4 separate regions of the Homo sapiens genome follow, and all the other regions are linked to region 1. Evidence: promoter capture Hi-C in 16 types of primary human blood cells and fetal thymus (Javierre and others, 2016). All regions are on one chromosome and are shown on one strand. Each heading gives the region's core, a stretch centred on a gene start or on the middle of the fragment in contact. The rest is flanking DNA. Distances are from core to core; before and after follow the strand shown.

Region 1 (5,022 bases), core at 700-3,199:
CATATACCCTCCCCTCAGCCTCCCCGAGCAGTGACATCTTATAAAGCTGTGGTAAAATAGCAAAACCAGGGAGTTGGCACTGGTAGTGTTGAACTATACTGCAGATTTTATTCTGTTCTCAGCATTTTTTAAGCTTGCATTTGTGTGTATGTAATGTTATCCCATGTATAGATTCATGTAACCACCATCCCAATCAAGATACAGAACTGTTCCATCACAGTAAAAGAATTCCATTCAGGCCGGGCGCGGTGGCTCATGCCTAAAATCCCAGCACTTTGGGAGGCCGAGGTGGGTGGACCATTTGAGGTCAGGAGTTTGAGACCAGCTTGGCTAACATGGTGAGACCCCGTCTCTACTAAAAATACAAAAATTAGCCAGGTGTGGTGGCACACACCTGTAAATCCCAGCTACTCCAGAGACTGAGGTAGGAGAATTGCCTGAACTGGGGAGGCAGAAGTTGCAGTGAGCCTAGACTATGCCACCACACTCCAGCATGGGTGACAGAGTGAGACTGTGTCTTAAAAAAAAAAAAAAAAAGAATTCCATTCTATCTGTTTGTATTCCTCCCCCCTCATCCTCCTGCTCCCTGGCAACCACTAATCTGTGCTCTTTCTGTCATCGTTTCGAGAATGTTGGATAAGTGGAAACAGATCCGAAAGGTATGTAACCTTCTGAGACTGGCTTTTTTCACTAAGCATAATGCCTGAGGTCCATCCAGGTTGTTGCATGTACCAAGAGTTCATTTGCTTTTGTTGCTAAGTAGTATTCCATTGTATGGAGGTACCACAGTTTGTTCCATCCTTTGCCTATTGGACATTTGCTTTTTTTTCCCTCGAGTATTTTGCCATTATGAATACAGCCACTACGAATATTTATATGCAGGTTTTTGTGTAAATATAAGTTTTGATTTCTCTGGGATAAATGCCAGGAGTATGACCGTTGGGTCATATGGTAAGTGTTTAATTTTGTAAGAAACTGCCAAACTGTTTTCCATGGTGGCTGTACCATTTTACATGTCCACAGGCAATGTATAAGAGATCTAGTTTCTCTGCATCCTTACCAGCATTTGATATTATCACTATTTAAAATTTTAGCTATTCTAAGTGGTGTGTAGGCATATATTTTTGTGGTTTTAATTTGCAGTTTCCTAATGACTAATGATATTGAACAACTTTTCTTGCTTATTTGCCATCTGCCTATCCTTTTTGGTGAAATATCAGTTCATGTCTTTCAGCCATGTTTAATTTTTTTTTACTGTTGAGTTTTGAAAGTTCTTTATATATTCTAGAAGATGCAAAATGTTTGTCAGATATTGGCTTGCAAATATTTTCTCCCAGTCTGCAGGTTGTCTTTTCACCCTCTAAACAGAGTCTTTCACAGCATGAAACAAATGGAGGCTTTAAATGGCCATTTCAGAAAAGCCTGACCTAGCCTTGAGAGCGTCGGACACGGTCACTCCACCGGTTCCCACTCACGAGGGCAGATCATGGGTTTAAATCCCATTTGGGTGTGCTAATTCAGCTTCACAATAGCTCACCCACCATGGGCTTAACGCTATTCAGTGGCCACAGGTGAGTGTGTTTCAGGACATCACAAAAAGATAAGCTGAGAAAGAGTGGCCCACCGCTGCCAGAACAGCTTGAGGGCAAGTCCCCACTGACCCGGAAAGTGAGTCAGTTGCATCACCCCCTTAGAAACCTGGAAAATGCTTCATCATCGGTGTAGAGCGAGAGCCAGCATTCAAAACGCCAGGGGGCTTATCAGGCCATTTCACCACAACATAAAGTAACAGGCAGACTTGAATTCATCTGGCACTGTTGACCAACACAGAGAGCCAAAACACACACGGAATTCAAAATCAGAAATAATCCCAAGTTTGAGTCATCCAATGTGCTTGTCTACATTGATTGCACTCACCAGATAAAAGTCCAATGCACTCTGTGGGGTGAAACAGCCTCTGTCTCAGGTTGGGAGTTGCTGCCATGGAGACCACAAGAGTGGAGATTTTCTGACACACAGAAAGGAATGGATTACAGCTCCTTCTTATGTAAATTTCCATGGAGGGGAAAAAAGATTAAAAGGAAAATAATTCTGCTTTAGTCGTTTTCCTTTAAGGTGATAAGATCCTTTGATTCCATCGTGGAGAAGAAGGCAACAGCTGTTTGTCACAAATGGTAAGACATTTTATTTGACATTTTGCAGAAACTCGATCTTTAGCTGTAATTTTGACCTAATGGTTACAGTGAGTTGTTTTTAAGAGAAAGATAGATTTTCTTGAAGCCAATGGGCCTCAGACATGAAGAATGAAGAACTAATTGTACTAACCTCAGTTTCTGAAGTGGACAGGGAAATCTTACCTTCCTGCCTCTCTATGTTCAGGCTGAGTGGGTCAGAAGGAGAGTGTATTAGGTAAGAAAATTTATCAGTATTATTTAGTGAACACTGGATTTATCCTTTTGCATTCTGGCTGTAGTACCCAACTTCCACATGGCAATGCACCCTCACCTCAGCCCTCCGCCCACGTGGTCCCCTTGCTGAGCACTTTAATGAATGACTGCATCTCATTTTCACAGCTATTTGATGCACCTGCTATTATTACTCTTATTACCATTTTCCAGTGGGAAGCTGCTTCTTGGGCAGGGTGGATTTCCATCTGCGTCTCCTTTTCGGTGTTGAAAGCTGGTAAGTGAGGACACCAGGATTGGAACCTGGGTAGTCTGAGTCCAGAATCTCTATTTTCAAGTCTTCCTGCTCTCTGCTTCTGGCAAGTTTGATGTCCACTTTTGATCTTCACCTACATTCCAGCATAATAGCTACTTTTGGTTGTTTTCTCAGCAGCACAAGAGAAGTGTGGCGAGATTTTTAGGTGAGTCATCTAGAGAAGTTAATCTTATTTTGGGAATTCTACTGGCAGCTTCAGGTGGGGAAAATTTTGTTATTTTCTATCCTCCTCTAGGTTCTAAAAGGGAAGAAAGATGGTGAGCGTAGAAAGATGTGACTGTATTCACTATTCACCCTTTGTCGGGTGGTGAGTAAGCAGCTTGCAAAAGCAATGAAGTTTGGAACAATCCAGAGAACCAAACTTTCAGCTGCCAGAGATGGCACCTGGTATCCTGGGTACATCTGCCTGTAGGGCCCAGAAAGAGCTGGAAGCCAAGTGCATGGATCAGGTCTGTAGGAAGGTGGGAGAGCCAGGAATCGAGTGTCAGGGGGCATTTATTACCCATGGAAGCAGGTTTTTGTCAATTTTGTTCACTGCTGGATCACTAACACCTGGACTGGTGCCTGGCCAGGTGGTGGCTTCATAATCATTTGTTGAGTGAATCAATGAATGAATGAATGAACAGCTGTAGCAGATGCTAGCAGGGCTTCCTATTTCTTCCATCACCATAAAGGTGAAAGACATCATAAACGGGAATTTAGACAATCCTCAGAAATTTTCAACTGCCATGTATCTTGACTTGATGCTTCTAGTAGTTATATTTATTTGTAATTCAATCTTTCTTTTTAAATAGTTGACCAAGTGTGGTGGCTCACGTAGTCCCAGCACTTTGGGAGGCTGAGGCAGGAGGATCACTTGAGCCCAGGAATTTGAGACCAGCTTGGGCAACATAGTGAGACCTCATCTCTTAAAAAAAAAAATTAGCTGGGTGTGGTAGTGCACACCTGTGGTCCCAGCTACTTTAGAGGCTGAGGTAGAGGATTGCTTGAGCCTGGGAAGTTGGGGCTGTAGTGAGCTTTGATTGCATCACTGCACTCCAGCCTGGGTGACAGAGCAAGACCCTGTCTCTAAAAAATTAAATAAATAATAAAAAAATTAAAAAGTAACTCCCTTTTCTTTATTTTCAGGCTTCCTTCCCACCTGCTAATTCAAACACTTTACAACCAAAAATATCTTACCTTGATCCTGTTTCTTTCTCTATAACCTCTCTATTTCTGTTTCTTTCAACCAAATTTCTTAGGTCATCTATAATTTTGTTTCTACTTTTTCTATGCATGCCTCAATCCATTGCCAACTCCTCAACCTGCCCCAAGTGCCCACAACTCCACCAAAAGTAATTCTAACATTTTACCAATCCAATACATCACAGTTTTTTATAAAAAACTTAAGAAATATACTTTAGTTGAATTTGAAAGAGTTGCCCACTTGTGTTAAATATTTCTTTCCTTGTGTCTGGGATATCATTTGATTCTGATTCTATTCCTAATTCTCTGACCACCCTTTCTTCGTAGATTTCTCTTCCTTTGTTCAGCCTTTCACATCCTTGGAGTTCCATCCTCTGGTGATTGTTTGTCCTGTTCCATACATTCTCCTTATATGAGCATTGTGTTTTAGCTTATGAATGGTCACATGACCTAGCCAGGCCAATCAGAGTCTTCCATGAGACTTTTGTTTATTTATTTATTTATTAATTTATTTATTCTTCCACATGCCATCTCATTTAACCTGGGACTTTTGTCAGAATTATCAGGAAAGACATTCTTCTTTCTTGGCAACAGTTGACTTTTAGGATCACAGTAGTCTGGGGCTGCCAGGGACCATGTTCTCCATTAGCAGAGAGCCTGGCTGAGAACAAAGTCAAAACATGGGAAAGCAGGATGGAGAGACATATTGTCATCATGTTACCCCTGGATCTAGCCATATTTGAGGCTTAAACTTATCCTGGACTCTAAAGTTATGGAACTAACATATCTTTTTAAATAATTTAAGCAGGTTTGAGTAAGATTTCTGACACTTGCAACCAACAGTCCTGAAAAAGATACCTCTACTCAGTCTTCCTATTTCCAATCTCATAACTCCAACCCGATGCTGCCAGAAGGAATGATATGAGATACAGAACAGGTAGTGCCATTGCTCTGTGTAAGATCTTTCAATGGCTCTCCGGAGCCTATTCAGGAGCGTGAACTCAAAAGCCTTAAGGGAGCAGGCTGATGGCATAACTGAGGGAAACAGTCCAGGTGTAAGATAATAGAAAGGGGGAGACCAAGTGTTCAGCCCTGGAGTATGCCCTGCCTCCAGTC
Region 2 (5,022 bases), core at 1,551-4,050, 450 kb before region 1:
TACATATTCAAATAGTCAGTCAGCTTCAATTTCTGAAAAACTGTTTTTCCTCCCAAAGAAATACAACTTTCATGCTTTTGTATTTTGCTGCCAAATAACCATTTGATATGTCAGAATAGAGAGTAGCTGAGAATCTCTCATACTTCATCTGACTCTTGAATGATTTTTGGTTTAATTCATATTCTGGCACAGAATTTATAGATGCATATAAAAATGTGAGTTAGCAAAAATATTTTACACAATACTGGAATCTCATGACTTGGTATTAGGCATATTTCTTATAAAGCTCGTCTTTTTGGGACATTGTATAAAAGTTTGTTCTTCCAAAAGAAGTCAAAAGATCTTGTTAAATACTGCTTCATCTATATGGCAATTTTATTGAAAAAAAATAGTTGAAAGTAAGTTTAACAGAGTGTCTTTTCTCCTCCTCCCTTTTAAAAATAAATAATATACTTTACTGGGAAGATTGTTAGCTTCTTTATGGATGGCCTAATGCTGTGATTACATTTCTGTAAGATGTTTCTACCCTGTCCCTTCTAAAAAACCCCAAACCCTCCAATGAACCACGTCCAGGGATCAAAAGTCAGCTCATCAGCATGAAGCCATTTGCCTTTGGCCATTCTACTGCTGCTGGGGCCCAGAATTCCATCGGAGTGCCCAGGGCAGACACATGTTTTCAATGGTTGTTGGAGGGAGCCCAGCCCAAATGAACAGAGTCAAGAAAATTCAACTATGCAATAGCTTTGAAAAACAACGCTGAGATTTTTTTTCACAAGGATGTCAAAATAGTTATGAATTTCATATTATCAACCTAGTTAGAGACTTCTGTTAGAACCTCCAACTATGTTTTTGGGCAGCAGTGCTGGTGCTCAAGAACTGGAGTGGCTTTAGTGGATTCAGCACATTTTCTTTACTTGGAATTTGGTCTGCACCCAGTTCTCCCACTGAGGAATCTGAGAGAATCTTGCTGCCTCCCTTTTAGGATTTCCATTATCAGTGCCCTGGGAAAATGGCGTCCACATGCTATAAATATAATTTAAGCCACAATTTTGCTTAAATATTGTGAAATTTAAAATGGCAGAATAACATTTTCTTGCTTATCAACTTACTCTGTGTTGAGGGATCCATTTCAGAAGAGTCATTTAATTGTGAGGTTCTAGGCAAACAGCTTGAGTCCTGTTCATTTTGGAACCTGGGTTCTTCTGTTATAAAAGTGAGGAGATTAAGATGATGTTTGGGAGTGAGTAGAAAGGCTTACTAATTCCAAATGGTCCCTAGTAAGTTACAATCACCAAGGATGGCTAAAAACTCCTTTCTTTTCTATTTTAAGAAGAATGCGGTCAACATTCAAAAGGCAAGGAAGTGTCATTAGTGAGAATTAAGAGCTGAGCTGATTTCTGTAAAACGTACTTTAAAAACACTTTCAGCTAAAACAAAAAGCCAACAAACTCAAAAATATGGATATTAAGATAGAGATTACGAAATGTGATCAGCAAGGCTTCCCTGGAAACTATTATGAGCTGATCACTACTGGTTTTAGCTAGGCAGGGCCTCATCACAACATACAGCAAATCAGAGCCAGCCATAGGCAAGTTTTACCCGAACCCTTCTTAGAGTAGCAGGCAGGGCAGTGCCCTAGCAACTAGTGGTGCCTCCCCTACTTTTATCAATTACTCTCCTCATCTCAAAACTTACACTCACCCTCAGCTGTGTTTTCACTGTTCCCTAACTCCTACAGCAGCACATCCAGTATGACACCAAGGTGTTTTTAAAAACATTTGCATCCTGACATGGCTTATAATGGTCCCTTCCTTTCTACTCCCACCGCTAGCATCTAAGCTCCATGTGTCGAGCCCAGAATGCTGGGAGTCTCATTAAATCGGTAAGATGTCTGCCTTTTACCTCTCTGAAAAGCTTTAGCTAATGGTTTTACCTCATAGTTTTAGCTCAATGAGTCATTAAAGTAATGTGACTAATCACCAATGACTAATTTGAACTGGTGGGGGACTGGAATCTAAGAGTCATCTTCAAACATCTGAAGGGCGGGACATGGCGGAGGTAGTAAACGTAATCTGCAATCTGCACTGTTCCAGAGAACGGTTTCTGCGGACAGAACTCAGCGGAAAAAGAAAAACAGAAAAGAAAAAGCAGATTGAACTATTTTACTAAGAAATAACACTTTTTTTTTTTTAGACGGAATCTTGCTCTGTCACCCCAGGCTGGAGTGCAGTGGCGTGATCTCGGCTTACTGCAACCTCCACCTCCTGGGTTCAAGCGATTCTCCTGCCTCAGTCTCTGGAGTAGCTGGGATTACAGGTTCACGCCACCATGCCCGGCTATTTTTAGTAGAGACGAGGTTTCACCATGTTGGCCAGGTTGGTCATGTTGGCCATGTCGGCCAGGTCGAACTCCTGACCTCAGGTGTATGAGGGGTTTTAAAAGTAGGCATGATTTGGCCTCCCAAAGTGCTGGGATTAGAGGCGTAAACCACTGCGCCTGGCCAGAAATAACTCCAAAATAAAATACTTGTAGCAAATGGAATAAGGTCACGAGCTTCCCAGTCTACCAGCATTCTGGCACAAGCACGCTGGCCACTGCTACATTTGCTGCACAGACAAGACGCGAATCAGGTGTGGTTCCTCAGATCTTTTTGTTTCTTTATTTTTTAGAGGCAGTCTCACTATGTTGCCCAGGCTGGTCTTGAACTCCTGGGCTCAAGCCATCCTCCCGCCTCAGTCTCCCAAATTGCTAGGATTACAGGCGCCACCGTGCCCAGCCAGAGCTGAGATCTCACAGCTCCCTCTCATCTGTCCTCCAAAATTCAACCTGCCCACTCCTGTTCAATTCATCTTCCCAAAGGGCTGTGTTGTAAATATTATCTCTGTTCAAACAACTAATGATTACCTTTTGTCTCCAGCAATGTTTCAAACACTGGCTGGGGATATTCACTCGTGAAACTTTAAAACAAAAATCTAGCTCCCTAGTTTCTACCCTAGAGCTACTGACGGAATTATTACTATTATTAGATCTACTGAATTAAATCACTATTGGTGAGGTCTTGAACATGTGTATTTTTTGAACACATATAGGTTTGTATTTTTTTTTTTTTTTGAGATGGAGTCTCGCTCTGTCGCCCAGGCTGGAGTGCAGTGGTGCGATCTTGGCTTACTGCAACCTCTGCCTCCTGGGTTCAAGCGATTCTCCTGCCTCAGCCTCCTGAGTAGCTGCGATTACAGGTGTGTACCACCACGCCTGGCTAATTTTTGTATTTTTAGTAGAGACGGGGGTTTCACCATATTGGCCAGGCTGGTCTCAAACTCCTGACCTTGTGATCTGCCCACCTTGGCCTCCCAAAGTGCTGGGATTACAGGAGTGAGCCACCGCGCCGGGCTCAAAAATGTCATTTTCTTAATGGTAGGTGATTATCTCCTGCTTTTAGGATTAAATGAATCTGATTAAATCTATATACCCTGATTAAGAACATGACTGACACATCATTCAGTCATAAACTTAAGACTTTTGAAAACTGGATGTTTATTAATCAAATTATCTCTATTGGTGAAATTCAGCAAGGTTAAAAAACATACATGGCTGACTGGTCTGCCAAAAAAAATTTAGCACGAAGGGAAGACATCATGGAGGCAGAGGGGCAAAGGTGTAGGAAAACTACCGATGACGAAAGCTTTTCACAGTTTCTTACCTTTCTCTATTTCTACGTAGATAGCTCTCTAAAGATTTTCTATTTTTCTTTCTAAAACAAGGGTAAGGCTGGGTGCGGTGGATCACGCCTGTAATCCCAGCACTTTGGGAGGGCCACGCAGGAGGATCACAAGGGTCAAGAGATTGAGACCACCCTGCCCAACATGGTGAAACCCCGTCTCTACTAAAAATACAAAAATTAGCTGGGCGTGGTGGTGGGCGCCTGTTGTCCCAGCTACTTGGGAGGCTGAGGCAGGAGAATTGCTTGAACCCAGGAGGTGGAGGTTGCAGTGAGCCGAGATTGTGCCACTGCACTCCAGCCTGGCGACAAAGCGAGACTCCGTCTCAAAAAAGCAAACAACCAAAAAAAAAAACAAGGGTAAGTGTGAGAGGGTGAGGGAGAAGTGACAGCTCCCATGATTAGTATCTTTTGTAAGCCAGTTTTAAATATTTAATTCGTGCAGAGTCACATTCTACTCCTCTCCACCTCCCTGAAGTACTCTTGGTGCTATTTGGGACCACTAAATCTCAAGTATGAGCGGTAATGAGTGGTTTTAAGAGTCGGCATGATTTGGCCGGGTGAGGTATAATCCCAGCACTTTGGGAGGTCAAAGTGGCCAGATCACTCGAGGCCAGGAGTTCGAGACAAGCCTGGGCAACATGGCGAAACCCCATCTCTACTAAAGATTAGCTGGGCATGGTGGCATGCGCCTGTAGTCCCAGCGACTCAGGAAGCTGAGGCAGGAGAATTTCTTGAATGCAGGAGGCAGAGGTTGCAGTAAGCCAAGATCGTGCCACTGCACTCCAACCTGGGCAACAGAGTGAAGTTCTGTCTTTAAAAAAAAAAAAAGGTAGGCATAATTAAATGACCTAACCTATATTTTCACTCTTCAAATTTGTGAAATGTAAAAGTAATGCACATAGCATATTCATGAAGCCAAAAATTGGAAAGAATCCAGATGTCCATCGACTGATGAATAGATTAAAAAAATACATAATATCCACACAATGGAATATTATTCAGCAATAAAAAGGAATGAAGTACTGGTACATGCTACAACATGGTTGAATCTCAAGACATTATGCCAAGTACAAGAAACCAGACACAGAAGACCATATATTACATGATTATATTTACATGAAACTTCCTGAATAGGTGAGTGGACACAAGGTAGTTAGTAGCTGCCAGGGGCTTGGGGGAGTGAGTGGAAATGGGGAGTGACTGCTAATGGGTACTGGGTTTATTTTGAAGTGCTGAAAAATGCTCTAAACTTGCTTGTGGTGATGGCTGCATGACTATGTAAGTGTATTTTTTAGTACATG
Region 3 (5,022 bases), core at 832-3,331, 410 kb before region 1:
TTCAGGCAGTTGTAGCAGAGAGCGCCAAATGAACATTCTGAAATAAAAATATATTTTAATCCCCCCAATTTTTTTTGAGTAAAACTGATGTAACATACAGAATTTAAATTGTACCTGTATTTTGTTGGATATTCACCATAGCCTTTTAATAAGATTTGTAAACGCTTTTTGTTTAATCCATCTGGTAATTCATTCTACAAAGAAAAAGACAATATTAATAAATGACACAATCATTAAAACTGAAAAGGTGACAAAGGTAATCTAGTCCACAGTGACTTCCCAACTTTAGAAAACAACACATAGTAAGACATATTTGTGTATCATAGGTCTTTTCCCCACTCCCCTCTCTCCCTCTCTTGAGCATGCATATACATAGCCAATAAAGTTCATGATATAGTACCTTCCCTAAACAAGCTTGACAAACTTTTTCTGTAAAGGGCCATGATATGCTTTGGCTCTGTGTCCCCACCCAAATCTCATCTTGAATTACAATCCCCACAATCCCCACGTGTTGAAGGATGGACCTGGTGGGAGGTGACTGGATCACGGGGGTAGTTCCCCCATGCTGTTCTCATGATAGTTCTCACGAGATCTGATGGTTTTGTTAAGTGTTTGACAGTCTCTCCTCCACATATTCCTCTCTCTCCTTCTGCTGCCTTGTGAAGAAGGTGCCCGCTTCCCCTTCACCTTCTGCCATGATTGTAAGTTTCCAGAGGCCTCCACAGCCATGTGGAACTGTGAGTCAATTAATCCTCCTTTCTTTATAAATTGCTCAGTCTCAGGTAGTATTCTTTATGGCAGTGTGAAAACAGACTAATACAGGCCAGTTAGTAAATATTTTAGGTTTTGTGGGCCAAGAAGAAAAATCAAAATTATATATTTATATATAACTACTTAAAAATGCACAAACCATTCTTAGCTTGAATAGCCGAATTAGGCCCATCGGCTGTCATCTGGGACTCCTGCATCAAGAGCAATCCACTCTGACCGCTCCTCCCCCACCTCTCTCTTTCCTTAAAATTCTAGGCAATTCCTAGCATTAAAGCATCAAGGACAAGTCTGGCAGAAAAACATGTGGGAGTTCATCATTTTATCCTAACAGACATCAGCTCCTGCTGATAGTCCCTTATATCTAAGACTTTAAAGTCAATTTTTATCTTAATAAAAAATATTTTATAGAATTTAGGATTATAAAGCTGTTTGCATATATTATCTCAACTGGATCTAACAACTATATGAAACAGATGAAATGTCTTCCTTTATTTGAAAAAATGGGAAAATCAGAGAAGTTTGGTGAATTGCTTATGGTCACAAATCTGCTAAATCTTGGCTCAAGACTCGAAGCCAGACTTTCTGATTTCGTTTAGTGCTCTTTTTACAAGAAGAAACAGGTAGTCCAATGTAAGAGAAGGGTGAAGGGAAAACCTAAGATGATGGTGAATGAAGATACTTGAGTGCCATATTAAAGGTATAGAGGGCAACTAGAACAAATGAGAGCAACATGATCCAGGAAGACTGACTTCATCATCAAGATACCTGCTGCCATTGAAGCTTCTTTTTAAACAAAGAAAAAGATGCCCTGGGGAGTTTGGCCTCAATTTGACCTGTCCTTGTCTTGGCCATGAGCTGATAAAGTTCCTTCTTTTCTTTCCACGTGCTAATGCAAAGATTAGTTGAGGACTTGCACTTCATGCCATAGAAGTGTTCTACTTTGACCTACTTTTTAGAACTGGCTATGGTTTCCTTGGAAGCAGCTCCATTCCTTGACATATTTCTGTAGGATATCCACATTGGATCCACACTACAATGCTGCCAGATACCCTGACATGATGAGGCTTTTACTTCCCAAAGTTGCTCATGACCATTCCCACCAGTTTTCCCAGAAAAGGTCCTGCAAACTCTGAAGCCAGAACATCTCAGAGATACCATTCAGCTTATCTTTGCATTAAAGCATTCATTAAATAGGAGCAACATTGCCCAGTCTTTACACAACTAGGCTAGGCTTGTGTCTGCTATTCAGTTTTTTCTTTAAAGAAGTAATATTTTGTTTAGAGTTACATGAAGAAGTTATAAAACTATAAAGAAAATCAACGGCATAATTAACACAAAAGTGAGGACAATGGTTATATATATGGGGTAGGGAGAAAAATGTGATGGGGGATAAGCACACACGGGGCTCCAAAGCTACGGTAATGCTCTATTTCTTCATGTGGAAATGGGTATGTGCAGAAAAAAGTGAACACAAGCCGGTCTGAGCCTGCTACCCTCAGAAGGCTTACTTGCAAGGTCAGCCTTTGGCTGGTGTCTAGAAGTTGAATTTCAGGAAAGTTCTCACCACCCCTAGAACCAATAAAGAGTGGCTCATTGTGCTTAAACTGTTTGTACAATGTGGTTTATGCTTAATGCCCGCCTTCCTTCTGGGAGTCTGAAATTTGAAACCTGTTAAAACAGGGTACCTACAGAACCAGCCTCTAGTAAAAATCCTGGGCACCAGGTCTCTAATAAATTTCCCTGGTAGACAATATTTCACACATATTGCCACACATATTCATTGATGGAGGAATCAAGGATGTCCTGTGACTCCAGTGGGAGAAGATTCCCGGAAGCTTGTGCCTGGTTTCTTCTGGACTTCACCCCATGTGTCTTTTCCCTTTGCTGATTTTGCTTTGCATCCTTTCACTTTAATATATTATAGCTATGAATATGGCTACATGCTGAGTCCTAATAAATCATCAAACCTAAGGATGGTCTTGCAGCTACCTGACACAGGATACATGTGTAATCTTTTTATTACTTTTCATTAAGCTGTAATCTGTTTTAGACACTCTTCTGTGTTGCAAATTTTACAATTAAAAAATGCTTAAAGAAAAAAGAAGTTACAATAGTCCCCACTGATTTGACGAGGAAATGTTCCAAGATCCCCAGTGGATGCCTGAAACCTCAGATAACACTGAACCCTAAATATATTATGTTTTTCCCTATATATACATACCTATAATAAAGTTTAATTTATAAATTAGGCACAACAATAGATTATCATAACTAATAATAAAATAGCACAATTCTGACAATATGTCAGTATCAGTACTTTTGTGCTCTACAGAAGTTTTTTAAGTAAAATAAAGGTTACTGGAACACAAGCACTGTGATACTGTGACAGTAGATCTGATAACCAAGAGGCTACTGAGTGACTATGCTAGACAGAATGATGGTCATGTGCCAGGTGGAACAGAGCAAGATGGCAGGAGATTTCGTCATGCTACTCAGAACGGTGTGCAATTTAAAACTTATGAATTGTTTTTTCTGAAATCTTCCTTTGAATATATTTGGACCACAGCTGATTACATGTAAACAAAACCATGGAAAGTAAAACCATGGATAAGGAAGGACACTGTATTAAAATCAATGTGAAAAATATCAGGTATTATTAGTGAGAATATGGAGCAACTAGAACTCTCAAATACTGCTGGTAGGGATGTAAATCAACTACTTTTCAATCAACCACTTAGGAAAACTGACAGTATTTACTAAGTTAATCTACAGTGTATCAGTCGAGTAGTTATTCTGGGGTGGGTGGGGGTGAGGGAGAGAGAGCGTGGAGCAATAAGCTGATGGTAATGTTCCAGTTTTTGATCTGGGTGCTGGTAACATGGTGTGTACATTTTGTGAAAGTTCACTGAGCTCTATATTAATGTGTACTTTGTATATGTGTGTGATTATATTTGTCATTAAAAAGTTTTCAAATCCCTTGAAAATAATGTCACTTCTCTATTAATAGCTATATTTTCTTTCTTTCTCAAAGCTGCCATATGGCTGGGTGTGGCAGCTCATGCCTGTAATCACAGCACTTTGAGAGGCCAAGGTGGGAGGATCACTTGAGGCCAGGATTGAGACCAGCCTGTGCATAATTTAGGTTACAACTTTATTCTCTTCATTTTATTCTCTTTCTTTAATTCCCAAGAGAGAGAAGAGTGGTGATGGCTTAGAAATCACAAGACTTGTCTACAGCAGAATCATGACAAAGTTTAATTACCAAATATTCTTACCTTTTTACTTTCAAAATCACCAGTCAGGTCTTGTTTTAATATTCTAGTTTGCATTTTGCTTTCCCTAGATTTTGCTGGCTGCTGTACTCTCCCTGATGTTACTTTCATCTTAAGATCACTGGAACTCAGTTTATTCTTGGGCAAATCTTCAATAACTTTCACTAAAGGCGGAGGTGGCTAAATGGAAAAATAAATATATATATATTCTAATGGATATCCTTGGAAGACAGGCCTGTTAATGTATGATTTTCAAAATTTGCTTTAATAACATGCCTTAATATGTAGAATTATTCTTCAGGCAAAAAACTTAAGTAAAATGTCTAGGAACATTTGCTTTGACTAATAAATCAAAGCAAATTTCTGCTGAATCCTTTTGAAGAACATAATAAAGATACATGATTAACAATAGCAATAAATATAATTATTCCTTGAAAGCTGGCCTTAAATCATTTAATACCAAATCATGTTTACACATACATGGTAAAGTTAGTATGGTGATTATTATCTACAGCAAAAAAGGTACAGTTAGAGGTATGGCCCTCTAGAATTCTGACAGAAGTACCCTAATATTCTTTGGGGTCAAGTGAAATTTCTAAGAGGAAACTGCCAAATGACTTTCTTCTAGAAGCATGGAACCTCTGCCCCTCTATCCCTTGGTTAAATGTTTTAATCTGCTTAGTGATCACTATTAGTTCCTTATTGTATCAACAGCTTAAGCAGTTCAGACAATGTGACTTAGAACCTATACCTTCATTTTTATGGGGCCCATCAAACACGGAAAAAAACCTGAACAACTTCAATTTACTTAAAGTAACATTACTCACTAGAACATTTTCTCCATAAACAATATTCTCTTTGAAATCAAAAGATCTTCCTTCTTCAAAGGAAGTGAGCAAATAAGGTAACTCAGGCTTTCTAAGTTCTAAATACAATTAAAACACAATGACCATTTACAGTTTATGATTCAATTCTTCAA
Region 4 (5,022 bases), core at 1,217-3,716, 320 kb before region 1:
CCGGCTATTTTTTTTTTTTTTTTTTTTTGGGATTTTTAGTAGAGATGGGGTTTTGCCATGTTTGCCAGGCTGGTCTCAAACTCCTGACCTCAAATGATCTGCCTGCCTTGGCCTCCTAAAGTGCTGGGATTTCAGGCATGAGCCACCATGCCTGGATGATAATACAGAACTTTTGGCCAACCAGGGTCAAATATCTAGTCTATTGGTCAGGAATTAGAGCTAGACATAGGAATAGCTTTAATTTATCCAGTCAGAATTTTAAAGGGAGGATACCAAGATGCAACTTCTCTAAGAACTCCCATTTCTTCATTTTTTCTGTTTATTTATTTACTTATTTATTTTTTCAAGATGGGGTCTGGCTCTGTCACCGAGGTTGGAGTGCAGTGGCGTGATCTTGGCTCACTGCAACCTCTGCTTCCCAGGTTCAAGCAATTCTCATGCCTCAGCTTCCCGAGTAGATGGGATTACAGGTGTGCACCACCACACCCAGCTAATTTTTGTATTTTTTGTAGAGATGAGGTTTCGCTGTGTTGCCCAGGCTGGTCTCAAACTTCTGACCTCAAATGATCCGCTCACCTTGGCCTCCCAAAGTGCTGGGATTGCAGGCATGAGCCACTGCACCCAGCCAGAACTCCCATTTCTTATACTACAAACTACTTTTAATATTTCAATCCATTTTTATATTGCTGGTTCTTCATGTGTCTGACATATTTGCTCTGTGTGATCCTAACTTCTTCTGCATATTGCTGGGGAGAAGTGAATGGATGGAGCAGACTGTTTAGAGCAAAGCATGTTCTGAACTTGGCAAAGCTGCTCTTCCACCCAGGAAGGTGAAGTCTGAAGTAGTTGCAGGTGTTGATTTGCCCCTGACGGGAATCATGTTGCAGGTGAAGACAAAGAGGATTTGTAATAGTAACAGTAGATCTATACACTCTTGAGGTGACCTGTATGTAAGCCAAGGGAAAACTGAAGAAGGTCAGCGTTGATTTCAGGGTGCAAGTCGGCTTTCCTAAGTGATCTCTGTGGTGTCTTACACTCAAGGATACAAGAGGCAAGGGAGAAGTGCTTAATGGCTCCAGGAAAGGGGGAACAGGCATTTATTGTTCCTCTTTTCCTTACTCCCACGCTTCTCTCTTGGTAGCCTTCATGTTTGCCCACATTTTATAAATACAATATTCATGACTGAAAGCATTCAGAAGCATGCTTTGCAACTTCCCCAACTCTTGAGGCAGGAAGTAGCAAAAACAATATTTTGAGGATGGGCTGGTGCTTGAAAGAGAGGTCAGAGGGGCTGCTGGCCTTGAAGAGTGGCAGGCCTCATTGGTTCAGCAGGACTGATTTCCCGTCTCCCTCAGAATGCATTTGCCACTCAGACTACAAAAGTGCTCATTGTCAGCTCTCACAGACTCCCAGGGACTAAATGGGCTGCCTTGAAGGCTCTCTTCCTTATGCTATTAGTTAAAACTTGGTGCATCTCTATTGCTTGAATGTCTTTAAACTCATTTGGCTCTCTTTGCAGGGTAATCAATGAGCTTATTGGAAATCTGGTTGGACATCTTTATTTTTTCCTAATGTTCAGATACCCAATGGACTTGGGAGGAAGAAATTTTCTATCCACACCTCAGTTTTTGTAAGTGTTTTTGTCCTGTCTCATCTAACATTTTACTGCCTGTGTTCTTAGTGCATCCTAATGAGAGCTCCATGAGGAGTATGATTTACCCCTATGCCCCATCTGCTGGAGAAACCTGAGGCAACAAGTGACTTACCCTAGTCACACAGTCACAGGAAGTTAGGGATTAAAGCTTAGGCTCAGTTGCCTTCCTGTTACTCTTTTAGCCAGGGACCACTGACAACTAGATTCCAACATTACAGGAGGCATCTCAGCTCTCTGAGCCTGCTGAGGGACCTGATGCAACTCCAGAGTGCGAAACAGTAGGCTGGTGAATGGGCAGAGTCACAGGTTAGTGGGGTGTCTTTTCTTGGCCCATCAGTTTTTACCCATGATTTTGCCCAAGGAAGGGTAAGTTAGCGTGTTGGTCAGCAATTTTAAACATTTTTATATTAAATACTATGGAGTAGACATTTTACAGGACTGTTCAGAGTTAAAATGAGAGACTTGAGGTTTGTATAGGCCCAACCCCCTGGGAGTTTGTGCTCTTTATCTGCTTTTAGGGTTTACTGAAGTGGGCTGGTAAGGGCAACAGCTTTGATTTTTGAGACAAACTTGGATTTGAATCCCAGTCCCCTCAGATAGCAGTTTTTATACTGGGAAAGTTACTTAATCAAACCTCCAAGCTTCAGTTTGCAAGCCTGTAAATTGTGGGAGAAGCCCCTGTCTCACAGGACTGCATGAGGTAAGATACACTGTTGGGAAGCACAGTAGCGGGTTCTCGGTAAGTAAAGCTAGCTGCCATATTCCTAAAGGTGGGGGTAGGAGAGCAGGATTTTGACGATCTGAGAGGAGACGCGCACACACCCAGAAGCATGTAATAGTCGTGTGACCGTTCTGTCAGTGAGGCAAAAGGCTGTCGAAGAACGGGCCAGTTAAATCACCATCTGGGTGTCACAGCCTGCCTGACAATCATGCCTAATCTCATATCAGGGATATGCAGTAATAGCTTGCATTTGAAAGCTTTAAAAAAACAAACAAACCAAACCCTTCCACATCTTGCTAATTTTAATGTTTTGCAGTTCTGTCATTCCTCTAAGGGATCAGTGAGGGCAGTAAAACTTGAGCAGGCCTCCTCTTTCTCCCCTTCCTTTTATAGGGTAGGGGTATGTTTTTCAAAGACTTTTCAAATTGTGAACTGTAATATACAGAGATATACCATATTGGTGGTTGTGGTGTGTGTGTTTTTCTTTAAGAGAATAAAAAGAAACTTGTTTCTCTTCTGAGCCTTGAATTGCCTTCAGGCTAAAAAAACAAATGACCAATCTGGTTTCTAATTATCAAAGGACATAATAACAGCAGGTTTGGCTTTCTGATCTAGGTTTATCAAGTAGGATGGCAGATGCATCAATTAAAAAAAGCTTGGTGCTTTTGGGGGGCAGCCAACAGTTACTTTACTTTAAATGGCCATATTCTAACTTAACGGCTTGTAGCTACTTCTCAGTTGTGGGCAACACAGGATACAAGATTCTAGTGGCAAAATCAGCGAGCCCTGGAGCCTGCCTTCCACTTGAACTTTCTCTGTTGGGGGAAGTCCTTCTGCTAAATTTTGCATAAAGATCAGATGACAAAATACAGCTCCTTGCAAAAGCAGTAACTGCTTTGAAATTACCATAAATTTTTGTTGATTATGTATAATTGGGTATCTTTTTATACTAATTATTTGCATTTAATTTCACTATCTACTTAAGCAGTGGAGATGGCTTCCATATTGTCTTAGAGTGAGTAGCAAAGCAAGACAGCCCTAGCATTTTCTCCAGCAAGTGTTCTATTTTATTATGTACTTTGGAGGAATATTATTGTACCAGAAGGCATGGATGTTGAGAAACCAGCACTTGGAAAATACATTTTGATTTAATGGTAAAGCTGTATTTGTTTAAAATGGAGGAGGTGAGTATAGGAAGGTATAACTGCTTTTCTAAATGGAATGCTGATACATTTGTATCACCATTTTCCATTCCATTTAGAGTAGTTATATCTTCTCTGTACACACTAAATTTTGTGTTTAAAAGGGGTTTTTGGCCAGGCGTGGTTGCTCACGTCGGTAATCCCAGCATTTTGGGAGGCCGACGGGTGGATCACGAGGTCAGGAGATCGAGACCATCCTGGCTAACATGGTGAAACCCTGGCTCCACTAAAAATACAAAAATTAGCTGGACATGGTAGCGGGCGCCTGTTGTCCCAGCTACTCGGGAGGCTGAGGCAGGAGAATTGCTTGAACCCGGGAGGTGGAGGTTGCAGTGAGCTGAGATCATGCTACTGCACTCCAGCCTGGTGACAGAGTGAGACTCCGTCTCAAAAAAAAACAAAAAAACAAAAACCCGAGTTGTTGTCTGTTTTGGGAAGAGGCATGAAGGTATCGAGTATGATGTAAACAGACTCCAGTCACTGACTGCTGTCCCTTCCCAGGCAGGATGCATGTAGTATAACAAGTAGTGCAGGGCGCAGGCTCTGGAACCAGGCTGACTAGGTTGGAATCCTGTCACTTTCGAAGCGCTTCACTCAGTGTTGGCTCAATTTTCTTGTTTATAAAACAGGAGTAATAGTAATGCCTACCTCATGGGGTTATTGTGAAGATCAGATGAATTTATAAGCAGGCAGCACCTAGTGTAAGGCAATAATCACTGAGTAAATTCACATAGTAACTGCTCTAGTATAAGGTCAAGTATAAAGCCTGTCCTCTTCAGGGTTTCTGCTGTGGACAAGTCACCTGTCATGACTTACTCTTGCTGCCAAGAAGGGTTTAAGCGGAGGTATCAGATCATGCTCTCTGCCTTCAAGCAAAATTTTAAACATTAGGATCTGCTAAGTGGAATAGGTTTAAACACATTCTCAGTTTACTAATAAAAGAGTCAAAGATGGGAAATAGTTGGAAAATACTATTGAGAGTGTAGGCTTGGGTTTAAGTTCTCTTAGCTGTTCTGTGAACTCTTAGTTTATTAATTTTAAGGTGGGAAATCATCTAACCGTCTGGGGCCCCAGCTCTCCCACCATCTGTGAGAAGGGAAGAATGTACCTGGAAGGCAGATTCTGAATAAATTTTAAAACATACCCATACTTCCAACATAGAAAGCCTTCTTCCCCTGTCTCCTTTGATGGGCTCAGCTGAGAGCCTTTTAGAAATGCTGTGCAAGGCTCAAACATGCAGGCTGTGGATTTGGCCTTTGAAAGTGAATGTATTTTGTATCCTTTGATCCAGTTTGAGCCATATTTAGATATACCAAGATGCTATCAGTCATTCTTTGGTTGCTGGGCTTGTGGGTGTAATATTTTTGTTTCCATACTGTTCTGCATGGATTACTTTTATAAGCAGAGAAAAAAACGTTCAGAGTGTGAATTTAGCTGAAATCTGA

Evidence for each region. Contacts are between HindIII fragments. The CHiCAGO score rates a contact against its expected background, and 5 or more counts as called.
Region 2: a fragment that was not itself captured here is called in contact with the fragment with the promoter of LINC01151 in region 1 in 1 of 17 cell types (M2 macrophages); the score reaches 5.2 in M2 macrophages.
Region 3: a fragment that was not itself captured here is called in contact with the fragment with the promoter of LINC01151 in region 1 in 1 of 17 cell types (naive B cells); the score reaches 6.0 in naive B cells.
Region 4: a fragment that was not itself captured here is called in contact with the fragment with the promoter of LINC01151 in region 1 in 1 of 17 cell types (M1 macrophages); the score reaches 5.7 in M1 macrophages.

Annotation. Positions count from the first base shown.
Region 1 is chr8:122,691,033-122,696,054 of GRCh38, reverse strand. LINC01151 (long intergenic non-protein coding RNA 1151) reads left to right here and starts at 1,949. Exons shown (of 4, transcript NR_126348.1): 1 at 1,949-2,174; 2 at 2,574-2,682. RefSeq lists enhancers at 1,133-1,633, 1,454-2,653. The HindIII fragment of the contact is 4,977 bases long and covers 136-5,022 here.
Region 2 is chr8:123,146,216-123,151,237 of GRCh38, reverse strand. It overlaps TBC1D31 (TBC1 domain family member 31), which reads right to left. Exons shown (of 22, transcript NM_145647.4): 21 at 1,110-1,202. Among named protein-coding and RNA genes, the nearest start is that of TRM-CAT1-1, 8.6 kb to the left of the region's middle. RefSeq lists an enhancer at 1,414-2,613. The HindIII fragment of the contact is 1,768 bases long and covers 1,917-3,684 here.
Region 3 is chr8:123,104,489-123,109,510 of GRCh38, reverse strand. TBC1D31 (TBC1 domain family member 31) reads right to left here. Exons shown (of 22, transcript NM_145647.4): 8 at 4,047-4,223; 9 at 115-194; 10 at 1-37. Among named protein-coding and RNA genes, the nearest start is that of TBC1D31, 34 kb to the right of the region's middle. The HindIII fragment of the contact is 1,055 bases long and covers 1,554-2,608 here.
Region 4 is chr8:123,015,803-123,020,824 of GRCh38, reverse strand. It overlaps DERL1 (derlin 1), which reads left to right. Exons shown (of 8, transcript NM_024295.6): 7 at 1,520-1,630. The region is part of intron 1 of LOC124902013 (a long non-coding RNA gene); the gene reads right to left. Among named protein-coding and RNA genes, the nearest start is that of DERL1, 24 kb to the left of the region's middle. The HindIII fragment of the contact is 337 bases long and covers 2,298-2,634 here.